Regions from separate parts of the Homo sapiens genome. Here region 1 is linked to region 2. Evidence: promoter capture Hi-C in 16 types of primary human blood cells and fetal thymus (Javierre and others, 2016). All regions are on one chromosome and are shown on one strand. The core of a region is centred on a gene start or on the middle of the fragment in contact, and the rest is flanking DNA. Distances in the headings are between cores, read along the strand shown. Region 1 has its middle 53 kb from the start of ZC3H8. Region 2 holds the start of ZC3H8 (zinc finger CCCH-type containing 8).

Region 1 (7,133 bases), core at 1,364-3,863, 54 kb before region 2:
TTGAACCTGGGAGACAGAGGTTGCAGTGAGCCGAGATTGCAGCACTAACTCCAGCCTGGGTGACAGAGTGAGATTGTCTCAAAAAAAAAGAAAGAAAGAAAGAAAGAAAGAAAGAAACCCAGAGTGTGTCTGCTACCTTTCATCATGTGAGGACACAGTAAAAAGGCACCATTTATGGGTCATGAAACAGGTCCTCACCAGACACCAAACCTGCTGGAACCTTGATCCTGGACTTTCCAACCTCCAGAACTGTGAGAAATAAATTTTTGTTGTTTATTAGTCACCCAGCCTAAGGTAGTTTATTATAGCAACCTGAATGCACTAAGATACACCCTCAGTAAAGCCAGGGAAGCCTCCCTCCACTATAGTCTACCAGTGAGTCAGGCTAACTAATTGGAATCTCTGCTTTTATTAACTTCAGGTGACATTACAGAGCAAGTGAAGGACTATGTGGGTTCCATCTGCATGCTAATTAAAGCCAGGCTCTGCCCTAGGAACCAGGATGCATGACCCACATTTCCTTTTCCTCTTGGACAAACAGAAGGGAAAAAATTATAATCAAGATCAAAAGTGAGTCAAAAGACAAATGGACAGGAATTCCATAGAAATGCCTCCCAGGTCAAGGCGGTCCCCCTGAGAAATTGCCCAGGGTGTCTTTTCTCCTTTAGCATCCCTGCATGCAACTCTCCCTCTTTGCATGGTGACAGACAGTTGTACGGTGGGCAGAGTCATTTCCTGGTGTCCATTTCTCTCATTTCTCTCATCGTCACTTTTCCAGTGACGGAGTGAAAAATTGCTCTATTGGCAGCAAGGCTGTCAGGGAGAACTGAGAGTTGAAACAAGCCACAACTTTTCAACATTGCTGCTCTAGAGCTAACCCATAAATGGCACCCATTCAGAACATGAATGTCACAAATCATCTAAGCATAAACTCTCCTAACACCCACTCACTCACACAGCCAGACAAGAGTACTGACTCTTCCAGAAACTCTCTAGTTTACAAAATCTCACCCATCCCTTCCAGGATCATCCTATGACTTTCTCTGGTCTCAAATGCCCTGTCTGTCCCCAATTCCCTCCTGTTAAGATGTTCCTCAGTTCCTCTCTGCTATGGTTTGAATGTGCCCCCAAATGTTCATGTGTTGGAAAATTAATCCCTCTGCCCTCATGAATGAATTAGTGTTAGCTCTGCCCTCATGAATGGATTAATGGGTTAATGAGGCCTGTGTGGTCATAAATGGATTAATGTCACTATCACAGGAGTGGGTTCGTTATTGAGGGAAGGGCTTTATTATAGAAGCGAGCTCTCTCTGGCTCTCCTGCTGTTGCCCTCTCACCATGTAATGCCCTTCACCGTGGTATGATGCAGCAAGAAGGCCTCACAAGATGCCAGTTCCATGCTCTTGAACTTCCCAGCCTCCAGAACCATGAGCTAAACATTTTCTTTATAAGTTACCCAGTCTGTGGTATTCTGTTATAGCAACAGAAAACAGACAAAGACACCCCCCATATGCAACCTCTTTTGCTGCAGCAAATAGTAAACCTGACTTTGTTGACTATATGTGGGTTCCTGGTGGTCTTTGACTGAGAGACATCAACTCCCAACTCAAGCAACCAGTGCTCTCAACTGCAATCCCTGATCCACTGGAGTGTGGTGATCAGCTGTGAAGTGTGTATTAGGTAATTGGTGGCTAGTACTAATTAAGATTCTCAAGCTTGGAAATAACAAAGGAGTATGGCTTGCCCAGGAGGAACTGTGCAGAGCCATGGGGGACACCTCAGATGTTCGTGGGAATGTCACATAAGGGGTGGCATGTATGCAGCTGGCTTATGCATAGGGAATCACTAGCTACATACTTGGCCATTCTCCTTCATTTCTGCCTTTGTCTGGGGAATTCTCGAATTACCTGAGCAGAAGGACACATCACCTCCATCTATGTTGTTTCATGGATAAGGCGTAAATGGTTTTTTTTGTTTGTTTTTTGTTTTATTTTGTTTTTAGACATAGTCTCGCTCTGTCCCCCAGTCTGGAGTGCAGTCGCACAATCTCGGCTCACTGCCACCTCTGCCTCCCAGATTCAAGCTATTCTCCTGCCTCAGCCTCACAAGTGGCTGGGATTACAGGTGCACCACCACCCGGCTAATTTTTGCATTTTTAGTAGAGGTGGGGTTTCGTCATGTTGGCCAGGCTGGTCTCGAACTCCTGAGCTCAGGTGATCCACCTGCTTCAGCCTCCCAAAGTACTGGGATTACAGGCGTTACAGGTGTGAGCCACCACACCCAGCCTAAATGTTTTTTAAAATCCTATTTATTCTCTTTCACTTAAAGGTCACCATTTTTCATATTGTTGGATGGAAAAAAGCAGCACCCATTTAAATGTTTAAATGTCAATGATGAATATTGAGCAAGTGCCTTTTATGTGCTTGATCCTTGCAGAGAATACAGCTTTGGATGGGGCAGGTACACTAAATGCCCTTCCACAGCTTCCAGAATGTCAGGGAGGACAATTTGAGACAAGGAGTGTGAGGGTTGCTGAGATCAAAGGAGGGTGGAAAGCGAGATGTACCCTTGCCTGGTTCACTAAGGCTGCCTCTGACAACAGAGGAAATGTGAGTGAGGCCTCTGAGGCAGGAGGCAGGGCCCAGTGACTGCTGTCCTGAATCTCTTTACAAATCCTGTGATTTGACCTGGAGAGTTCTGAACAACAGACACTTGCTCATTCATGGGTGGGCCCGGAAGGCCTGTTTCACGGACCATCGTGCAGCTCCCACACCACAGCCTTGTCACAGGTCCTTGCCAAGATTTAACAGAACAAAGGCCGTGGGCCCCAGCAGTGTCTTCCCAGGTGAAGATCTCTCAGGTCTCGCATTTGTTCCAGGGTACCCTGTTCCCTGCCTTGCCGTTCCAGCTCCTTGGCAGAAGGCCTGCACATCTTATTTGAAAAGTCAAGGGCATTTTTCCCTTCTTTTTTTTTCCTCCCCTGGTTCAGATGTAGGTGTAGGACACATCCCAAAGAACACAGCCCTCCAGAACTGCAGGCAGTCCAGAGTGGCAGGAGCCAGGGGAGGTTGGGCAGGTTTCTGTTTCCTGAGGGGCCACTCACATCATCTCCCCAACTTAGGGAGAACATAGAATCCTTCACAGCTACACAAGGACAGGCATTCAGTCTCTGAGATAATAAGGAATTCACAGCAACCAGGCTTTCCTCCTTCATGGACTGAAATGACTGTTTTATGTGCATTTGGCTGAAATAAGGAGCATTTCTGTTGATTCCAGGTTTACCTAACTGAGTTCAGCTACATGAGGAAGTTTAAATTGGCTTACAGTCTGTGGGCATATGGAAGGCTGAAAAGAGCTGGTGTGTCAGCAGATATGAGGCTGAATCACAAATTCATTCAGGAAGTCCAAGATTAAAGTCTAGTTTATATTATTATGTAACAAATATACCTGCCAAGCAACACATCCAGGCAAATAAATTTGGAGTATTTTTATGTAGGATACAGCTGGGATACAAAGCTTGTATATATTTAAGACTTATGGGAATGGTAAATAAGACTACTTCTGTGGAATCTCTTAAAAAGGTAGTTTAAAAATTTGGAGCATGGAGTAAAGGTCCCAAATTCTTATGAACTAGGAGCTTCCTGCTAACAGTCATGTGCACTTTATCTGTTAATTGTTTACTGTCTCATTCCTCTGAGTGCAATTGCGTTCCCCAGGAAGATGAGTCTCTGGACATGCCAGGCAAGGAAAGGTGATTTTGAAATAAAAGTACTAGAAGACGACATGTTCAATTTTCATACCAGTCATAAATACGTATATAGTTCTATTTATATATACACTTCTATTTATATATTACATATATAGATATGAAATATATTTAGAAATATATATATTTTTAAGTGCAGGGTTTTTTTAAAAGGTATTGTGATGTCAAACCACACTTAAAAGTGAGTTAAGGTTTCTACCTCTGGAACAGCAGAGTAAAAATCTTCAAAAATCCACTCCTCTATGAAAGACATAAAAACACTGCCAAAACAGTCAAAAATCAACTTTTTCAGAATCTGGAAATTAACTGAAGGCTAGCAACAATTTGAAGAGAATTTATTCAAGCAAAACAGCTGAATCTTGGTGAAATGCCTGTGGCATTTTAACTTCTCTAATGTCATTCTCCTCTCCCCAGCTCCACAGTATGAGCCTTGAAGACTGAAAGCCCTGCAACCTTAACAGCTATGAAAACTAGTACCTACTAGTCACTGGAGTGAGTAGAACAAGTTGGGAGCTTCTCAAAAACTCCACCCCCCACTAAAATTCACTATTTGATCTCACAGCTTACTGAAAAGCTACCTTCTCAGGGCTTAGACTCAAGAGCTCACTCTGTGTGAACAGCCTTACCATTTGTCAAAAACAATCAGTAGCAATTGTTTAATATTGCAACTGGAGGTGTTGTTACCTCCAGAGCCAACAAGAGGCTGAGCAAAAAACAAAAACAAACAAACAAAAAAACAAAAAAACTGGGAAATGAAATATCTACAGGGGGCTTTGAAAAGCTCTGACACATCCCTGGGAATCTAGAAAACCATGCATGTGCAGGGATGAGAACATGCCCAAGAAAGACCTGAAAGGGTCCTAAGTTCTTATCTCAGGCCAGCTTGAGGTACTTCTCATGCAGGAAGTAAAGCCTAAGGCAGAGTTGTAAATTCTCAGCCAGAATATTGAAGGTATGTCCCAACTCACACACAGAGTTCCTCTATGAAGACTGGAAGACTCATATGTTCAAGGTATTTGAGAAAATCTCTGCCCAATCAAGGGCTGTCTATTAAGCTAACTAAGCGCTGACTTCAATAGCCATACAGAATAAAAAAATACAAACTTTACACACTTAGTCCAGGAAAAACACTAAACAAACAGCAATGACAATAAGCAGAAACAAGCAAACCCTGGATGGAGTAGTATGATTTACAAAGTTGACAAATTATATTGTTTAAAATGTCCAATTTTCAATAAAATATTATGAACTTACCAAAAAAAGGGGGCCCAAAGAAGTATGCTCCCATGCATAAACAGTCAATACACACTATCCCTAAGGAAGCTCAGAACTTATGTATTAGTCCGTTTTCATGCTGCTGATAAGGACATACCTGAGACTGGGAAGAAAAAGATGTTTAATTGGACTTACAGTTCCACATGGCTGGGGAGGCCTCAGAATCATGGCAGGAGGCAAAAGGCACTTCTTACATGGCAGTGGCAAGAGAAAATGAGGAAGATGCAAAAGCAAAAACCCCTGATAAAACCATCAGATCTCATGAGACTTATTCACTACCACGAGAACAGTATGGGGGAAACTGCCCCCATGATTCAAATTATCTCCCACCAGCTCCCTCCCACAAAATGTGGGAATTGTGGGAGTACAATTTAAGATGAGATTTGGGTGAGGACACAGCCAAACCATATCAGCTTACTAGAGAAAGACTTTAAATCAGCTATTATAAATATTTTCAAAAAAAGTAAAGAAAACCATGTCTAAAGGAGGTTGTCTCATCAAATAGAGAATATCAATAAAGAGATAGAAACTTTTTAAAAAAACAAATAGAAATATTAAGTTGAAAAGTATAAGGCTGAAATAACAAATTCACAAGAAGGCCAAGAGACAATTTGAGCAGGCAGAAGAAAGAATCGGTGAATTTAAACATAGGTCATTGATATTATCCAGCTTGAGGAACAAAAAAAAAAAAAGAAAAACTATCTGAGCCTTAGATATTTGTGAGGTCACCATCAAGCATATCAATATATGTATAATAAGCATCTCAGAAGGAGAAGATAGTAAGAAAAGAAAGAAAGGGTATTTGAATAAATAAGGCAGGAAACTCCCCAAATCTGATGAAAAACACTAATATGCACATCCGAGAAGCTAAAAGAATTCCAAGCAGGATAAAGACAAAAAGATCCACACTTAGACCCATCATGGTCAAACTGTTGAAAGTCAAAAAGAATTTTTAAACTAGTAAGAGAAAAGACTTCAAGTATAAGGGAGCTTCAATAAGAGTAACAGGTCACTTCTCATCAGAAACTATGGAAGCCAGAAGACAGTGGGAGGACATATTCAAAGAGATCAAAGAAAAAAAGCTGTTGACCAAGAATTCGATATCAGCCAAACTCTTCTTCAAGAAAACAGAAACTTAGGCATTCTCAAATACAGAAAAATGGAGAAAATGTATTGTTAGCACACATACCACATAAGAAATATTAAAGGGAGTCCTTTAGGCTGATACAAAAGAACACTCGAGAGTAACTTGTATTCACACAAAGAAATAACACCAATAAAGGAAATTATGTAAGTAAATATAAAAGACAATATAAATATATTTTTTGTTTATGACACTGTTAAATTTTACCTTATTTAAATGACAACTGCATAAAGCAACAATTATACAACTGTGTTGATGAGTTTATAATGTATACAAATTTAATTGGTATAAATAAAATAGTACAAAAGAGGGAAAAGGGAAAAAAGCCATATTGGAACAGGTTTTCACTGTCTACTATAGAAATTAAATTGGTGTCAATCTGAACTAGATTGTTTTACATTGTTAATTATAATCCCTGGGGCAATCATTAACAAAATAACTCAAATGGCTATAGTAAAATAAATATCAAAGGAATTAAAATAATAGACTAGAAAATATGTATTTAACACAAAAGAAGCCATTCATAGAGGAATAGAGAAACAAAAAGGACATGACACTCAGAAAGCCAATAACAAAATGTCAAACATAAAATTCTAGCTTACCAGCAATTATATTAAGTGTATTTGGACTGTTATATATGCATACATTTTATATATGTATGGAGTAACTACTAAAAAAACTATACAAAGAGATACACTCCAAAATACTATAGAGAAATAAAAATGGAATTCTAAAAAATGTTCAAGTAACCCACAGGAAAGCAGGAAAAGAAAAAAAGAACAACAAAGATAACAAAACAAATAATAAAATGGCAAATTTAAGTCTTGACATATCAATAATTACATTAAATGTAAATAACAGTCTAAATACACCAATTAAATCAGTTGCTCATATTTGTGTGGACCTAGTTCTGGAATCTCTAATCCATTAAGTTGATATGTTTGTCTG
Region 2 (6,912 bases), core at 3,923-6,422:
TTAACCCAACTTGAAAGAAGCTTTTGAAACTGTTTACAGTCCATTTCAGAAATAACAAAAATAGAAATAAATGCAATTATTAAACATATGTCATGTTAAATGACAATAAAGTTATTAAATAATAATTTATTTAAAAAGTATAACCAGTTTTCTTTGATATAAGTAACTGGGTCCCAAATGCTGGTAAAATGAGACAAGTAGGATCCTTCATTAATTTCTCATATCCATTTCCATCTGTTTTTTCTTTTTTTGTTGTTCCATGTGAAACTGAGAAAAAAAAATCTGCGTTTTCAACTTAAACAGTGGTCAACTTAATCTTACTTTTTTGGGAATTTGCTCGCACTCCAGTTTAATTTTCTCTTCTTGTGTTTCTTCAACTTCTGTATCTATTTCATCATCGATTCTGTAGCAAAAATATCAAATAACACAAAAGAGTTTTTTCAACCTGAAGTGTTCATACCACAGCGTTACAATTCACTGCTTTGGCTTGTCTTCAACTTACCCTCAAAGAAATTACAAATTCAAATTCTATACCAAATACTCCAGAAAATGTACAAAATTATGATGACCAATAAATGTCCATATATATTTATGAATAGCCTGTAAAATTTTAGATTATAAAGCCTTAATGTTCAAGTATTAGCAGCTATATAAATCATTCATTCATCCATCATTCCATTAATTCAACAACTACTAAGTACCCACCATGTACGAGGCTCCGGGCCTTAGGCCCTGGACTACAACAATGAAAAATACAGACCCTGTCACTGTGTTCTGAGAGCTTTCTATCTCCTTGGGAGAAAAAAATAAAGCTATTTCAATATGGTATGGTAAGTATAGGGGCATATATGGGGAACACAACCCAGACTTGGGGATCAGAGGCATTCAGAGCCTAAATGATACTTATGAGTTAGCCAAAAAAGAGGAAAGAGGAATGTGAGAGAGAAGGGTATTTTAGGCAGAATGCAGAGTGCCTTTTGAGATTAGGAGCGAGACAAACACATTTAAGTGTAAAGATGAAAAAGAAAAACTGTTTTCAGACTTACAGGACTGAGAAGTTGACCATGCATATATATAACAGTCTGAGACAATTACTTGAGGCTATTCCAGCAAAACTAAATATGAACCCAAGAGGGATGGGAAATATAAGAACATGGTGAACAAAGAAGACAATAAAATGTATAGATGTATCTGAATAATGGTTGATACTAGAAATATAGGGAGCTGAAGAAAATATTATCTTAGTAAGTGGTGACTATTGAACACAAGATTGGGAAAAGCTGTGAATTAAAATATGAGTTACACACCAGATAAAGGCAAGGAATTGGGGAATGTGTCCCATCTCAAGAGAACATGTTACAAAGGGAAAGCACTGACAGCACAAGGAGAATGTGAACAGTGGCTCCGTGGCTGTTCTTTCAAAGTTACAGGAGCTCAGGCTTCACAGCTTTGTCCAATTCAACAGTTTACACTGACTCAGAGCTCCAGAGTTACATCCATCAGATGAGGTACTAAGTTGTGAGCCTGCTACAGAAGCCACCATTACAAGAACCAAAAACCCCAATACTTGTGAATCTTTATAGCTATAGTTTCCAGTAATGAATCATCTCATGGAGTAGGAGGCAACCTCTCCTTAGGCAGAGGAATAATGACAATAATGACCTCAATAGCAGTAACAGCATCAGCCAACACTTGAATGATGCTTACTCTGTGCCAGATGCTGCTCCATACACGTAACACTTACCACAAACAACAGTGTTATGACATACATACTAAAAGCCCATTTTACGGATGAGAAAACAATCACAGAAAGGATATGTAACTTGTCACAGAGCTAATACATGGTGGAGCTGAGATCTGAGCCCCAGCAGGCAGGCAAAGCTCCCAAGTATGTGCCCTACAATCACACTGTTATTCAACACTGCCCATTCTAAATAGATGTCTACTTTCACTGTGAAGGTCTACAATACTCAGCACCCATATTAGACCTATGAGCAGGATAGGACAGAGGTGACCACCTCTTCTCTGTAAAACATGTTCTTTACTTAGCTTCAGAGATAGTGGGCTCTTCTAGTTTCTTCTTTCCACAGCTACTACTTCTCAGTCTCCTTTGTTGGTTCCTTATCTTCACAACTTTCAAAGTCAGTTCTCACCTCTTCTCTTCTTTGTCTATATTCTCATCTATATTCTCATTCCAGGCTATCCCTTTCTATATCATCACTATGAATATCATCTGTATGTAGTTGATTTCAATATCCAAGTCTCTAACCCAAACCCCTCTTCTTAAATCCAAACAGAGCTAACTTCCTAGTCAACATAACCACCTGAACATCTACTAGACATATGTAATCTTAAAACATCCAACACTGAACTCTTGCTCTTCTCTCTGAAGCCTAATCCTTCTTGCTATCTAAAACGGCAACACCATCCCTCTCAAGATCCCTACCAAAACCTTAAAGTCAATCTTGATTCCTCTCTCACATCCCCATCCAATCTCTGAGGAAATCCAGTTTATTCTATCTTCAACATACCCACGTTTGACCACTTCTTGCCACTAATACAACAATCCAAGCTGCTCTGGCACCCCTACATTCTACTCTCAACACAACTAGAATGACCCTGCTAAAATATTTCAAATGTCACTCTGCTGAAAAACCCTCCAATGGTCTCTTGTCTCATTCAGAGTAAAAGCCAAAGTCCTTATTTCGGCACCTACCAGTTCCTCCATGATTGGGCTCCCCTAACCCTACCCCAGTACCTCGCAGACTTCCAAGTCCCTCTTACTCCACCCCAGCTGTCCTGGCCACTTTGCTCCCCTAACCCAATCACACCAAGCTCACTCCGTCTGAGGACCTTTATACAGACTCCTCTCCACCCCTCTGGACTATGAAACCCCCTCACCTCCTTCAGGTCCCTACACAGATTTTTAAAACTTACCAATGTTATCAGTGAGGCTTTCCTTATCTACCTTCTTAAAATATCTACACCTCCCAGCCGGGCGCGGTGGCTCACGCCTGTAATCCCAGCACTTTGGGAGGCCAAGGCGGGCAGATCACAAGGTCAGGAGATCGAGACCATCCTGTCTAACATGGTGAAACCCCGTCTCTACTAAAAATACGTCGGGCGTGGTGGCAGGCGCCTGTAGTCCCAGCTACTCGGGAGGCTGAGGCAGGAGAATGGTGTGAACCCGGAAGGCAGAGCTTGCAGTGAGCCGAGATCGCGCCACTGCACCCCAGCCTGGGCGACAGAGCCAGACTCTGCTCAAAAAAATAAAAAAAAAACCCACAAAACTACTCCCTCCCTACCATCCCACCAGTGCTTATTTTCCCCTTACCCTTCATTCATTTTCTCAGGGCATTTAGTACCACCTAAAATATGATATATTTATGTATGTCTCCCCCTTCCCCTAATAATGTAAATTCATTAGTACAGAAATTTTCATCTCTTCTTCATTTACTACTATATCCCCAAGGCCGTAGCAGGTGCTCAATACGATTTTTTGAATGAATGAGAAGTATTCCCATCACAAATTACTCGGAAAAAAAACCAGAAACCATATGAGAAAAGACTGATTCATCTGACTGCATAAAACCAAACCACAACATCCCCATTCCTTTTTACATTGAAAAATAATGCCATAGGCAAAGACAAATGACAATTGGGAGTAAAGTATTCGCAGATAAGAGATCCTAGAATGTGAAAAAGACCAAAAAGGAGAAAAATGGGCAAATAATATGGACAGCTCACCATACTTCCATACCATCCTTCACCCATCATTTTGGCAAAATTCCAAGTGTCTTTTATGTATTGCAGTCAAGTTTTGGGGAATGGAGCTTGTGTCCAACACACTTTGAAACTGATAGCTGCTGTTCGGATTTTTAAATGTTGCTATTATCTTTTTTTTGTGTGATGAATTCTTATGTATTTTATAACATATCAATTAGTACCAGTTATTTTTCTTAGTAAATTATATCATCTGCAAGTAATTAGTGTATCTGTCTCTTTCCAATATTTATAGGGCTTATTTTAAAATTTTAGTCATTTTGCATGAGAAGCTTGGTGATAAAATCATGGATCCTGGACATAGCTCTTCCACTTACACTGTGCAATCTCGGCAGGTTATTTAGCCTCTCCGTGCCTCAGTTTTCCCATCTGTAAAACGAGGACGGCATCATCTTCTCTTTAAGTTTGTTTTGAGGATTAAGTGATTTATTTCATGTAAAGCACAAGGTAAAGCTCTGGATGATCAGTTAAGGTAAAATTTGAGATAGAGTGAACAGCTGACCAATATCGAATGGTAAAATCAATCACAACTGGAAATATATCTCAGTTGAGGGAAATAAAAGACGTAGGTTTAAGAACAAAGATGGTGGTTTTTAGCATTTCAAATCACTAGACACTGCTCCAAAAATATAATCTACAAATTAGGGCCATCTGACCAAGAGTCTCACTTGCTTTTCCAACCTAATGGAAATATTAAGTCCAAATGACGTCTGTTGCTTTATTGTGGTCTTTAGGGTCTTTCCATGCAAATCAGTGGACTAATGGCAGAGTATTGCCTATTCTTTACCTTTCAATAAACTTGTGGTTTCATCCTTTCTACAGAAAAGAACCTAGGAGGTGTCAGTGAAAAAGGTCACATCAGTGTCCTCTGGGAGTTTACGGTCTCGTGGAAACAGGCAACAACGGTAAAGACAGACGCTACGGGACCACAGAGGCGGGCTCCTCACCCGCTGCTGTGCAGAGAAAGGGGCGCATCCCGGAGCCTTCTCGCCTCCACCCCGCTCCCCCGCCCAGGCTCTCGACAGCCCCGGCCCTGACGGCCTAAGCCTGAGCCCCGCGTTCAGCTTCTGCTCCCACCCGGACCCCGCACGACCTCTATAGGTCAGACGGTGGCGCCCGGCCGGCCCACGTGCTCCCCACGGGCCCTCGCGACGCGGCCCGGACGTGGCCCCGGACTGCCTCCAATCCAGAAGAAACTAAGAGGCGGAGTCCCGCTGAGCCCCTGCATTCAAAAGATGAAAAGATATGGGATCACCTTTCGTCAGAGTCCGTGGCCGTTTTGCCGAGGGCCGGGTTGGGGGGTTTTGAGAAAAGATTCTCAAAATCCATGACCCAGACAGGTCCTCCCTTTCGCGAGCCGGGAAGCTACAGAGTAACAACCCGAGAGAGTGACAACCCGGACGCGACGAGACGGACCCAGAGCCGCGCCAGGGCCACAGGCTCCGCCCCGCGCAGCCTCACCTGCCCCGCGCATGCGCTGCACCGCCCTCCGCGACTCTGGGCAGGCCGGGTCTCTCCCTGCCTCCTTCGCCTCGGCTCTGCGCAGGCGCCGCCGTGGTTGCCCTTCTGTAAGCTTTTTCGTCCTTTACCTCAGATAGTAGAATTTTGTTTATTTTATTTATTTATTTGTTTGTTTGTTTGTTTATTTAAAGACAGAGTCAAGCTCTGTCGTCCAGGCTGGACTGCAGTGGCGTGATCTCGGCTCACTGCAACCTCCGCCTCCCGGGTTCAAGCAAGTCTCCTGCTTCAGCCTCCTGAGTAGCTGGGACTACAGGTGTCTGCCACCACGCCCAGCTAATTTTTGTATTTTTAGTAGAGACGGGATTTCACCATGTTGGCCAGGATGGTCTCGATCTCTTGATCTCGTGATCCGCCCGCCCCAGCCTTCCAAAGTGCTGGGATTACAGGCGTGAGCCACCGCGCCCGGCCCCAGCCCAGAATTTTTAAAATTAGTTGTTAGGATTCTGCTTTCACCTTGGTGAAAACTCTTCCATCAAAATCACAGTATTTCTAAGGGATGGTAGTAACAGCTAACATTTATCTGAGCACTCCACTACTATTCCTTAGAAATAGCGTTTCACATGTTAGCTAACTTAATCCTCACAACAGCCCTGTAAAAGATGTTCTATTACCATTCACAGTTTTGAAATGAATAAACAGATGTGTAGTCAGGTAATGTAACTTGTAGGGTCTCTACAATTGAATGGGAATTAAAATGAATACACAAGTAACCTCAAGACAGAAAAGTCCGTTAAAAAGTACCAAATACTAAGAGAATTCAGAAGAGGGAAAAAATTGCATCCAGTTGGGAAGGCTTCTTGAGAAGGGAGTATTTGAGCTGGGTCTTGAGATATTTCCATAGGAAAAGAGGAAGTGGGCATTCCAAGTAGAGAGAATTGTATGAAGGCAGGAAAATAGAGCATGCTGTTGCAGAACAGGAAATTGCTCAGTTTTGCTCAATGTAATGCCATTTAAGGGACCTGTAGAAAGGAAGGCTCAAACCCTAGGTTGGGCCAGTGATAGAGAACCTGACTTGCTTCTGTAAGTGAAGGGAGTGTTTGATTCTTGGCATGAATCAGGATCCCTTTACCGATTAGTGAAGGGAACTATTTGAAGCCAGACATCTTCCCCAGGGAAATTCTACTTTCCCATGTTGTTTATATTGTAGGCCATCACCTATGGAACATGAATCATTACTAAAAATTCAGAGAAAAAATTGAATTAAGGAGATAAAAACTAGAATTACCCCCTCTTTAGCAGGAAGCATTATTATAGAACCCAAATTGTTACCATACACACTTTTTTATATAAAATATCCAACATACAGCAAAAGATAACCAGACACAAATGAAAATTAGATTGGTAGGTAAAAAGCAGCTAAAACATCTGACCTGCAAAGGCATCAGACACTAGCATTTTCAGACAAAGACTATATAAAAGGCTACATATGTTTGTGTTAGATTGATGCCAAAAAAGGCCCCAATTTCTCCAACCTTTCCTGTATCCATGTCCTTTGCAATGTGACTTTGCAGCTCCTCCCATAAAGAGGTAGGATCTATTTCACCTCCTCTTTAATCTGAGTTGATTTTGCCTGATAGAATGACTTGTCTTAGCTAGTAGAATGCAGAA

The links. Contacts are between HindIII fragments. The CHiCAGO score rates a contact against its expected background, and 5 or more counts as called.
Region 1: a contact is called between a fragment that was not itself captured here and the fragment with the promoter of ZC3H8 in region 2, in 2 of 17 cell types (non-activated CD4 T cells and activated CD4 T cells). The highest score is 6.1, in non-activated CD4 T cells.

What each region holds. Positions count from the first base shown.
Region 1 is chr2:112,198,554-112,205,686 of GRCh38, forward strand. It overlaps a transcript of FBLN7 not described here. Among named protein-coding and RNA genes, the nearest start is that of ZC3H8, 53 kb to the right of the region's middle. The HindIII fragment of the contact is 1,801 bases long and covers 1,714-3,514 here.
Region 2 is chr2:112,249,870-112,256,781 of GRCh38, forward strand. It overlaps ZC3H8 (zinc finger CCCH-type containing 8), which reads right to left and starts at 5,173. Exons shown (of 9, transcript NM_032494.3): 1 at 5,039-5,173; 2 at 322-403. The coding sequence starts at 5,112. RefSeq lists a silencer at 5,146-5,355 and a cis regulatory region at 6,906-6,912. The HindIII fragment of the contact is 1,301 bases long and covers 4,054-5,354 here.